3 separate regions of the Homo sapiens genome follow, and all the other regions are linked to region 1. Evidence: promoter capture Hi-C in 16 types of primary human blood cells and fetal thymus (Javierre and others, 2016). All regions are on one chromosome and are shown on one strand. The core of a region is centred on a gene start or on the middle of the fragment in contact, and the rest is flanking DNA. Distances in the headings are between cores, read along the strand shown.

Region 1 (3,763 bases), core at 486-2,985:
AAAAATATGGGTACAGGGTTCTTGCAGCACGTATTAGAGACTGCTGAGACGCTTCACTCTCCTCCCAGTGTATCTATCTGCAGGAAAGGGGCACGGGTGGGGGAACCACACACAAGCAGCCCAGGTCAATCATGAGAAAGAATCTCCCGCACAAATCACACCATTTCTCTTCAAGGAAGAATGACTGTCCAGAGCTTCCAAACTTGCTCTTCCCATGACAGACAGGGATGCTGGCAGAAGAGAAGAGGAAACATTGAGGAATTCCTGCCTTGACACATGGCTTCAAGTCAGGGCTCCGCTGGGAAAATTCGGGTCACAACTTGTAGCTGAAACTCCACGTGCACCCTGCGGGGCCGCTGCTGCTCCCAGCACCCTACGGAAGGGTGAGCGCCAGACCCTGTGCCCAAACCTCACAGCGGCAGACCTGGAGAAACCCATCCCCCTTCTTCAGAGCCGCCCCCCAGGCTATATTTTTGGCAGCCTATAATACACAAAATAGTATTCCCATACAACAGGAGTGCTCCAAAATTATTTCCAAATAGGTCAGTGCCACCAGGGAAAGTCAATCCCAAATTCCAGAAATCTCCCTGGTCATCTCAATCCCCTCCTCCCCCGACAGCCGGCTCGGCCCTCCAGAGGCCACCTTTCCTCTCAAGGGTCCCCACGCCCTCTCCCTTTACAGAAAAGGCTTTCAGGAAACAGCCTTCCTTTCCTTTCGGCTCCTTAGTAGTCTCACCTAAGGCCTCCCACCCAAGTGCTCCAGGACAAGCACCTTCGGCCAAGGGGCGTCCGAGGAGCTTGGCTGCCGCACGAGCGCACGTTCACACGCGCGCACACACACATGCACACAAGCGCGCACACACACTTGCACACGAGCCCTCTCTCCCGGCCGCCCCCATCCTCCACACACTCCCACACACTCACTCCAGGCGAAGTTAGTCCCCGGGCCCTGGCGGCCGCGGCGTCCTCACCTTTGGAAAACAGGGCGGCCAGGCTGATGAGTACCGGCGACCAGTGGTGCCACAGCGTCCCCATCTCAGACGGGCACATCCTGGAGACCCGGAGCGCAGATCCTCCGCTCCCCGGCGCCGTCCAGGCGAACAAGAGACCGTCTCAGTCCCCTAGAGGCCCGCAGCGGGGCCGGTGGCGAGGGAGCGCCCGGCTAGGGGCCCGAGCAGCCCGGGCGCCCTGCTCCCTCTTCCCGCCAGTCCATGGCCAGGCCGGGAGGCGACGACCGCGCGGGCTCCTGAGTTGCTCTCCGGAGTCCAACACGCGCGCAGGCAAACCCCACCTCCCTCCTTCGACCCCAACAGAATTTTTTTTAAATTTTAATCCACAGGGGGTATTTCCTTTCCTGTTTACCCGAGCGAAGAGTGGCCCCCGGTGGCCCAAGGAGGGGCGCCTCCAGGCGCAGGGCTCCGGCGGCTCCAGCTGCTCCCGGGCTGGCTAGCGGGCGCTGGCGCAGGCGGCGCCGGGGTGGCGGGGCTGCGGAGCCCGGGACGCGGGCAGAGGCGGCTCGGAGCCCCCCGGGCGGGTGGCCGGGCTCGCTGGGCGGCCCGGGGCTCCCTGGCCCGCAGCCCCCATCCCAGGCCGGCCGCTGCGCCTCGGGGCTCGGGCGCGCGCGCGCTCCGGCACCCAAAGTTTGGCGGGTGCGGCTGCTCCCCGGCCGCCGCCTCGGCCCGCCCGGCCCCGGGCCCGGCTGGGGCTCGCGGGGCTCTACGCGCGCCGAGCGCACTGCAGGCTCCGGAGACGCGGGGCTCCCCCCTGCGCCCGGGGGAGGCGGGCCAGATGTGCGCGGAGGAGGGCCCGCCGGCTCGGGGACGCGGCCGAGCAACGCAGCTGCCTCCTGCCAGCAGGCGCGGGGGCTCCGCTCCGCAAGGACCGCATCCGGAACGGAACGGAGGCGATCGCCACGGTGCCCGGAGCCGGCTGGGGCTTTCGCCTTAAAAATTTGTCTGCTTTTAAAAAGCCCCACCCTTTCGGAGTGACAGCTGTGAGCCCCAATCCGCAAAGTAAATCCCACCTCCCCCTGGCCGCCCCACGCCCAGCCTCCCGGCCACCCTCCCTGCGAGCGCGGACGCGCGGTGGCGGCGGGCGAGGGCTCCCAGCGCGGGCGCACCCCGGGGACGGAGCCACCCACTCTCCCAACAGGTGTCCAGCTGGCCACCGGCCTCTCGTCGTCATCAAAACCTCAGGCCCAGGGGAGGTCCTCCAGCCCGGGGGCACCTGAGGCTCTTCGCCAGGGAGAGCGCAAGGATGGCTGGAGAAGGGCCCTCGCCCCGCCCTGCGCATCTCCCAGGGATCGCAGTGAGGAAGTCTCTGACACGCCACACTGAGGTCATGCTGGCCCCAAGCCCCTTCCCAGAGCGATCCCCCAAGTTAGTGTCCCTAGAAACATGTCGTGTGCTCCCCAGGGCTCACTGGGAAAGGAAATGGATCCATTAGGAGACAACATTGCTTTGAGAAGATAAAAGACATGATTCTCAACACCGCCCGGAATCTCCAACTAAGACATTCCCACACCAAGATCCCTAAGCACCGTCCTGTAATTTGTAGCCCAAGAACTGCTTTGCTCCACGAGAGCCTTTAAATTAACCCCATCAAAGCTCAGAGGGAAGAAAAGCATTCAGAATTTTTAAGGAATATTGTAAACCAACAAGCCCTGAATCTAATGAGGTGAATTCACCTCAGTAGATAAAAATGGGTCGTTATCATCTGACTGAGGGGGCAATGGACTTTTTTATCCTGTATGCCTGTAGTTGCAGAAATATACCAATGCTTTAAGAGTTTTTAGCTTTCAAAGTTTCAAGGAAGATCAAAAAAGCCACTGCTGTTCTACCGAAGATTGTTTTTCTGGGTTCATGTCCTTTGAGATGTGCTCTTGTCTTTTATTCTGTATCTACTTATCTGAATATATCTGTCTTTCTGTTTTTTCTTTTGTTTGTTTCTTAAACTTGTTGCCTTTTCTCTTTGTATTGCTCTCCTGTAAAATTCCTAAGAGTCGACGCTGCAAAGACCCTAAGAGATTGTCTCTTTCACTGTTTCTGAAGTTTGAACCAGCAGGAGAGTCACTGGAAAATTTGTTAGACCTGGGTTGCTGGGCCCACCCCAGAGCTATCTCGGCAGGTCAAGGTGGGACTTCCGATCTCCGTTCCTAAAAAGTTCCAGGTGATGCTGATGCTGCCGGCCTGCGGAACACGTGCTGGAACCACTGGTCCCCTTTCTCCTTCACCTGAGTGATGAGAGAGCTGAGCTTTCGTCTCTTGGACACCTTCACCTGGTCTCTGAGTGTCAAAATTGATGCCCGCACTGAATGCATAATCCAGGTTCCATCCTTAACGCTACAGTGGGTCTGAGTCTATTTGTAAATCATCTATTTGTGACACTGAGTCTATTTGTAAGACATTTCTCAGACATATTGACTAGAAACAAGTGGTCCCTGTTCTTTATTAAAAACAATCATTTTATGTTTCTCTAAATCAAATTGAGTTTTTCCCCTGAATTGCAATCATCAAATAACTTTTCTTTTTGCCATTGCAGAAGGTTTCTCTATCTGTAATGTGAAGACAAAAGGTGACTGTCAAGTTCCAGCTGCTGCCTAAAATGTTAAACGGTTTCTTCATTATGCGTAGTTGGCGAAACAAAAGTTTTTTCCACTCTTTGGTATGGAAGATTTTTTGGGAAGATGCAACTTCAGATACCTAATCAGTGGCTAAAATAAGATGCAAGAATGGCTTCTTACTTTTTCTCTCTCCAGTATGCC
Region 2 (3,841 bases), core at 1,034-3,533, 710 kb before region 1:
GCCCTTAAAAGTGGAAGAGGGAGGCAGAAAATGAGAATCAGAGGGAGGTGAGACTAGAGGAAAAAAGTCAGAGATGCAACACGGCTGGCGCTGAAGATGCAGGGAAGGGTCTTGGGACGGCCTGCAGATGGAGGAAGGGAGTCTCAGGCTTGCAGATGGAGGGAGGGGTCTTGGGGGCCTGCAGATGGAGGGAGGGGGTCTCAGGCCTGCAGATGGAGGGAGGGAGTCTCAGGCCTGCAGATGGAGGGAGGGAGTCTCAGGCCTGCAGATGGAGGGAGGGAGTCTCAGGCCTGCAGATGGAGGGAGGGAGTCTCAGGCCTGCAGATGGAGGGAGGGGTCTCAGGCCTGCAGATGGAGGGAGGGGTCTCGGCCTGCAGATGGAGGGAGGGGTCTTGGGGGCCTGCAGATGGAGGGAGGGAGTCTCAGGCCTGCAGATGGAGGGAGGGAGTCTCAGGCCTGCAGATGGAGGGAGGGGTCTCGGCCTGCAGATGGAGGGAGGGAGTCTCAGGCCTGCAGATGGAGGGAGGGAGTCTCAGGCCTGCAGATGGAGGGAGGGGTCTCAGGCCTGCAGATGGAGGGAGGGGTCTCGGCCTGCAGATGGAGGGAGGGGTCTTGGGGGCCTGCAGATGGAGGGAGGGGGTCTGGGGCCTGTAGATGGAGGGAGGGGTCTAGGGCCTGCACATGTGGGGGCCTCTGGCAGCTGGAAAGTCAAGGAGAGATATTCCCCTAGAACATCCAGAAAACAAGGCAGCCCTGCTGAGACCTTGATTTTAGCCCAGCGCAACTCAGGTTTGTTTCTAACCTACAGAACTGTAAGATAACACATTTGTGTTGTTTTAAGCCACTAAATTTGTAGTCCTTTACAGCAGTGGTGGGAAACTAATACAGATTCTGAGCCCATATCCTAGCTCTCTGTTCTCAGTGGAGCAGCCCAGAGCTCTTGCTGTCCTGCCGGTGAGACCCCCTCAGACCTCAGGACAGGCTCCGGGTGCTGCCTCCGCACAAAAGGTGTAGTCTCAGGTGTGGCCTGTGGTCTCCAGCAAGCTGTTTCCCCTCCTTCCAGACCCGGCTCCAGACGCCCCCTCCGGGTCACTGCCAGTGGTGCTGATCTCTGACTCCTCAGACCTGGCTATTTCCTCTCCAAGGGACGTGGGCCTTACTTCCTGCCACAGTGCCTGAACTCTTCTTCCTTTCTGACCATCACATGACTTGCTCAGTTAGCCTATGTGGAATCTACTCAAAGCCACCTTTTCAGTGAGGTACATATGTTTATAACATATGCTATACATATATGTGTGCATACATACACATATCTTGCCGAAAAGACACAGAGAAGGGAAATAGGACACACACACACACACACACACACACACACACACTTCTACATAGGATATGGGATGTATACATGTATATTTAAAATAGGTTATGTATAAGAAATTACACATATAGAATACAGAATAGAGAGATCTATATGAAAATATCTCCCATTTTCCTTTCTATGGAGGAAACTATATATATGAAACTATTATAAAGGATATATATGAAAATAAAATATACATAAATATAGCTATATATAGGTTATATAGGAGATGAGATATATGTGGATGTATGTGTGTATCCTAGTTTTCTCCTCTGTAAAGGAAACTACATATATGATACTAATTATATAAGATATAGGAGATATATATGTATATTTATATATATCTCAGTAGGAGATTATACATATATCTCTATATCTCCTATTTTTCTTCTCTAAAGAGGAAGCTATATATATGAAACTGTATCACAGGATATAATGAACCATACACACACACAGAACACACACACACACATACACACACACACACGAAATATCTCCTGTTTTTGTCCTCCAGTTGGAAACTCATGAGGGGCAGGGACTTTTTTGTTACTGCTTAATCTCCAGCACTCTGATCAGTGGCTTGCATGTATCAGAAACTCAATAAACACTTGTTAAATTATTTATGTTTATGCCAAAGACTCTTCATTCAAATCAGTTACAAACATTTTAATTTTGAATTCTGTACGAAAGCTTCCATCATATCTTCTGAACCCTGGGTCTCTAAAGTCTGAACCTGGCCCTGTAGAAAACAAATTCACATCTAGTGGAGGCACAGTGTTCACTTCTGGTCTTCACCAGGGCCTGAGTCTTACTCTTGGCTGGACCTCGAATGGTTCCTACTACCTTGACCTGCGTCTGCACTCACTGGGGAGGTCTGGAAGAGACCCCTGGGGCCTCCATCCTGGGTGACTTGTCATGATAAATGTTGCTCAAGAATATCAGAATCCAAATAGAAGTTCTCATTTGGAATTTGGAATCCACCGATTGTCTTCCTTGACTGTAGCCATGACCTCCAAAGTAAGAAGTGTATCATCACTAGTTTTACTTAGAAGAACTTTGAGCTTGGTTTTCATCTTGATCACACACACTCATTATGTGATACTTGTTTTTCCTCTCTTCTTGGATCAAAGACCTTCCCATGAGGGGAAAGATGGCAGAAGCTTCTGTAACTGACTCTAACATTGAAATCAAGATTCTGTGGCAAATTCTTATAAGAGAAACTTTAAGGCCCTGAAAGACTAATCATGAAAAATACCCCTTTTGGATAAATATAATCTCAAATTTAGGGTTGTTCACATATTTTTGCCATTGGTGTCTCTTCTTATTAATCTTTATTCTCTTGTATCAGAGGACAGGGCTGGCTGGGTACTAATTATCTATCACTGCCTCCACTGGTGAGATTTTGTGGCACAAATGGGGGGTTTGAATTACAGCGGGTGTGTTGCACACTCAGATACATTTTAACTGTGATGTGCCTGGTGGTAGCTGGGCGCCTCGTTTTAGCACCAAAGGAGGTTCAAATCCTAAATCACTATATACAACACTACCATTCTAATGTTGGGCTTCAAAAATTATATAACAGGCCAGGCGCGGTGGCTCACGCCTGTAATCCCAACACTTTGGGAGGCCGAGGCGGGCGGATCACGAGGTCAGGAGATCGAGACCACAGTGAAACCCCATTTCTACTAAAAATACAAAAAATTAGCCGAGCGCGGTGGCAGGTGCCTGTAGTCCCAGCTACTAGGGAGGCTGAGGCAGGAGAATGGCGTGAACCCGGGAGGCGGAGCTTGCAGTGAGCCGAGATCGTGCCACTGCACTCCAGCCTGGGTGACAGAGTGAGATTCTGTCTCAAAAAAAAAAAAAAAAAAAAAGATACAACAGCTTTATGCCAATTACATGCACTCTGTATGTGATACAGTGTTTAATTGCCTGCATGTTTAGTTAGAGGTTTTAAGGTGACATATGGCATATAACTCATGCTTTAATGCAGCTGTTGCCAATATGTTTTCCTTCTTCACATAGCAATGTTTTTTTTTTGTGGTCACAGAACTGAAAGTAAATAATTCTCCATCGCAGAAATGGAGGCAAATCAGCACGTTAACCCTTACAGGCAGGTTAGAAACCCAGAAGGTGCTATGCCTGCAATTTGGGCTGCTGCCACCAGGTGGCACCATTACAAATCCCTTGACCCATAGTATCTTGCCCATCATGCTTTAGAGCATTTTGCAAATAACACATCCAAAATCGAATTTTACTAAAATAACCTATTAAACACAAAGTATGTGTGTTAAAAAGTCAATTTAACTGGAAATACCATAAAAGGGAAATGAAGGATATAATACTTTATATCTCATTGGATGTTCATCAATTTTTAATACAAAGATGGGTTTGTTGTCCATTCATTCAACAAATCATTATTTATTAAGCAACTGCTACATACCAGGCCTTCTGGTAAGTCCAGGAATATAGAAATGAGTAAGA
Region 3 (3,461 bases), core at 539-3,038, 730 kb before region 1:
TTCTCAGAGTCATGAAACCATGACCACTATGTAATTTTTGCCACACCCAAAAGAATCCCCATACCCATTATGAGTCACTTTCATTCCTGCTCCTGCCAGCCCCTGTGGACCCCTAATTTACTTTCCGCTCTATGGATTTTCCTATTCTAGACATGTCATATACATGGAGTTATATAAGACATGCCTTTCACGTCCAGCTTCCTTCACCTAATATGACGTCCTCAAGGTCCACCTGTATTGTGGTTCCCAGAGCTGTGATGGACCCTCAAGTTCACCTCCCCCAGGGGGGTTCCACCTGGGCTCTACAGACATTTAAGGTTGGATAATTCTATGTTTCGTGGGGCTGTCCTATGAGTCATAGGCTGTGTAGTGTCATCTCTGTCCTCTACCTTCCAGATGCTGGTGGTATCTCATCTTATTTTGATGGGAACCCAAAAGGTATCCAGATATTGCCAAATGTCCCCTGGGTGGGGAATCACCCTTGGTTGAGAACCGCTGACCTAACTAACTCTCTTCTCAAACTCTACCCAACTCCCATCACCATTTAAAGAAACAAAACCCTGGAAGGCTGACTGACTTCCTGAAATCCCACAGTTAGCTAGCGGCCGATAGAGGGACTAGAGCCCTAGCTCTTGATATCTACTTTGTATCACTCTAAGAATCTACCTTTCAAATATACCTTTGCTGAAATCAGGCTGCTTTTTACCCAAATAGCATTTTCGTAAAGCCGTCTTTAAACTTCAACCCACAACCAAACCATCCAAAGAGCTTGTTAAAATGCAGATCTCCAGCCCCCAGCCCTAGAGTTTGTGATTTTGTAGGTCTGTGGTGGGGCCTAAGAACTTGCATTTCTATTAAGTTATCAGGTGATGCTGATGCAGCTGGTCTGGGGGTCCTGCTCTGAGAAGAACCATTGGAGCATTCACTCATCCTTTACTTGTCTGTGGACTGGGAGTCTCAAACACAATTATCTGCTGTGGCCAGGCAGAAAACACAACTGTGAGACATGAATGGTGTGAGGATGTTGTGGCTGGAGCTATGGCAGCCATCATGTGACAGTGAGGACTGAGTCAAAGGAATTCCTGGGAAGCCAGCCTGGCTCCCCCTGCATGGCACTGCTACATAGCTGTATCTAGGACTGGCAATCTCTGAGCTTGATGTCATGCAGAATGGATGATAACTCCTATTATTAACCACTTTTACTTGGTTGTTCTGTTATCTTCTATCTGATTGCATCTTAAATGACACATTCCCCTCTTAGCATGCAAATACAATGGGACAAGCTACTTCATCGATTTTTTTGTTTATCTCTATATTTCCATCATCAAGACGAGGGGCTGAGCAGAACTTCATCAATAAGAGGGGATTCAAGAAGCACTTAAATGAATGAATGAATTGTACTGCAGGGGCCATCTCATGCTTTGAGCATCTGTGTATAACATCTTCACATTTATTTTTATTTTTTCAAAATGCCATGTGTCTAAACACCACTTCCACTATTCTACCTTTTATTCTTTTACAAAAACACCCTTAAGCTTCTTCTAAGCAAAATATTTGCAATCCCAGTTTTGATATGTTACTTATATTTTCTAACACATTACATCAAATACACAAATGTTCTATTTCAACAAGATCTATTTAGCACCTGCAATCCTCACGCTTGCTGTGGTTCTGATCATGTCTACACTTTTCAGATGCCACACTGGACCACGGCCAGGGCTTAATTGGGTCCAGGCAGTCTGACTTCTTTGTGAATAATCGTAAAGTCTCCAACTCCCTTTCTCATCTAGAGCTGCTCCTTCCAGGTCAGGGGTGAGGCAAAGAGGAGGAGCTGTTCCCACATGCTCTTACCATATGCAAACTGTGAATAAATAAAAGATGATGAGATCTCAGGCTGGCAGCAAAGGTCCTTGGAGCAGAAAGTAATTCACCAACAGAGTTGGGGTATGAATTGCAGTGCAGAGAGCAAGCAAATAAGCCCTGAAAATATTTGTTGATACAGGCACACCTTGGAGATATTGTGGATTTGGCTCCACTGCAAGAAAGCTTATATCTCAATAAAGAGAGTTACAGGAATTTTTTGGTTTCCCAGTGCATGTAAAAGTTATGTTAACACTATACTGTAGTCTACTAAGCATGAAATTGCATTATGTCTAGAAAATAACACTCATGCCTTAATTTAAAAATATCTTATTGAGGGCCAGGCATGATGGCTCACACCTGTAATCCAGCACTTTTGTGGGCCGAGGCAGGCAGATCACTTGAGGTCAGGAGTTTGAGACTAGCCTGGCCAACATAGTAAAACCCAGTCTCTACTAAAAATACAAAAATAAGCTGAGTGTTGTGGCGCACACCTGTAGTCCCAGCTACTAGGGAGGCTGAGGCAGGAGAATTGCTTGAACCTGGGAGCCGAGATTGCACCACTGCCCTCCAGCCTGAGCGACCCAGCGAGACTCCAAGTAAAAAAAAAAAGTGTTATTGATAAAAATGCTAATGATAATCTAAGCCATTAACAAGTCATAATCTTTTTGCTGGTGGAGGGTCTTGCCTTGAGGTTGATGGCTGCTGGCTGATCAGGCTGGTGGATGCTGAAGTTTGGGGCGGCTGTGGCAAGGACTGAAAATAAGACAACAATGAGGTTTGCTGCATTGATCGACTCTTCCTTTCATGAATGACTTCTCTGTAGCATGCGATGCTGTTTGATAGCATTTTACCCACAGCAGAACTTCTTTCAAAATTGGAATCATTCCTCTCAAATCCTGCTGCTACTTAATGAACTAAACTTATCTAATATCCTAAGACCTTTGTTGTCATTTCAACGACGTTCACAGTATCTTCCCCAGGAGTAGATTCCATCTCAAGAAACCACTTTCTTTGCTCATCCATAAAAAGCAACTCTTCTTCTGTTCAAGGTTTGTCATGAGATTGTGGCCATTCAGCCCCATCTTCAGGCTCTACTTCTACTTCTAGTTCTCTTGCTGTTTCCCCCACACCTGCACTGACTTCCTGCACTGAAATCTTAAACCCCTCAAAGTCATCTAGTGGGGCTGGAAACAACTAAGTTCTTCCAAAGCCTTGTTCATGTTGATATTCTGAGGTCCTCCCATGAATCACACATGTGCTTAATGGCGAATAGGGAATCCTTTCCAGAAGGTTTGCAATTTACTTTGCTCAGGCCCATCAGAGGAATCACAGTCTCTGGCAGCTATAGCTTTACAAAATGTATTTCTTAAGTAGTAACACTTGGAAGTCAGAATTACTTTTTGCTTTGTAGGCTGCAGAGTGGATGTTGTGTTGGCAGGTGTGAAAACAAGATTCATCTCGCACATCTCCATCAGCACTCTTGGGCGATGAGGTGCATTGTCATTAAGCAGGAATATTTTGAAAGAAATCTTTTCTTCTGAGAAGTAGATCTCAACAGGTAGGCTTAAAATATTTAGTAAACCATGCTACAAACAGAT

What was found. The method cuts DNA at HindIII sites, captures the fragments that hold promoters and counts their contacts. A CHiCAGO score of 5 or more calls a contact.
Region 2: a contact is called between a fragment that was not itself captured here and the fragment with the promoter of TMEM132D in region 1, in 1 of 17 cell types (M2 macrophages). The highest score is 5.8, in M2 macrophages.
Region 3: a fragment that was not itself captured here is called in contact with the fragment with the promoter of TMEM132D in region 1 in 1 of 17 cell types (M2 macrophages); the score reaches 5.4 in M2 macrophages.

The regions. Positions count from the first base shown.
Region 1 is chr12:129,902,290-129,906,052 of GRCh38, forward strand. It overlaps TMEM132D (transmembrane protein 132D), which reads right to left and starts at 1,736. Exons shown (of 9, transcript NM_133448.3): 1 at 972-1,736. The coding sequence starts at 1,050. The HindIII fragment of the contact is 8,442 bases long and covers 1-3,763 here.
Region 2 is chr12:129,189,948-129,193,788 of GRCh38, forward strand. The region is part of intron 5 of TMEM132D (transmembrane protein 132D); the gene reads right to left. Among named protein-coding and RNA genes, the nearest start is that of TMEM132D-AS2, 17 kb to the right of the region's middle. The HindIII fragment of the contact is 470 bases long and covers 2,049-2,518 here.
Region 3 is chr12:129,168,346-129,171,806 of GRCh38, forward strand. All of the region lies in intron 5 of TMEM132D (transmembrane protein 132D), which reads right to left. Among named protein-coding and RNA genes, the nearest start is that of TMEM132D-AS2, 39 kb to the right of the region's middle. The HindIII fragment of the contact is 511 bases long and covers 1,534-2,044 here.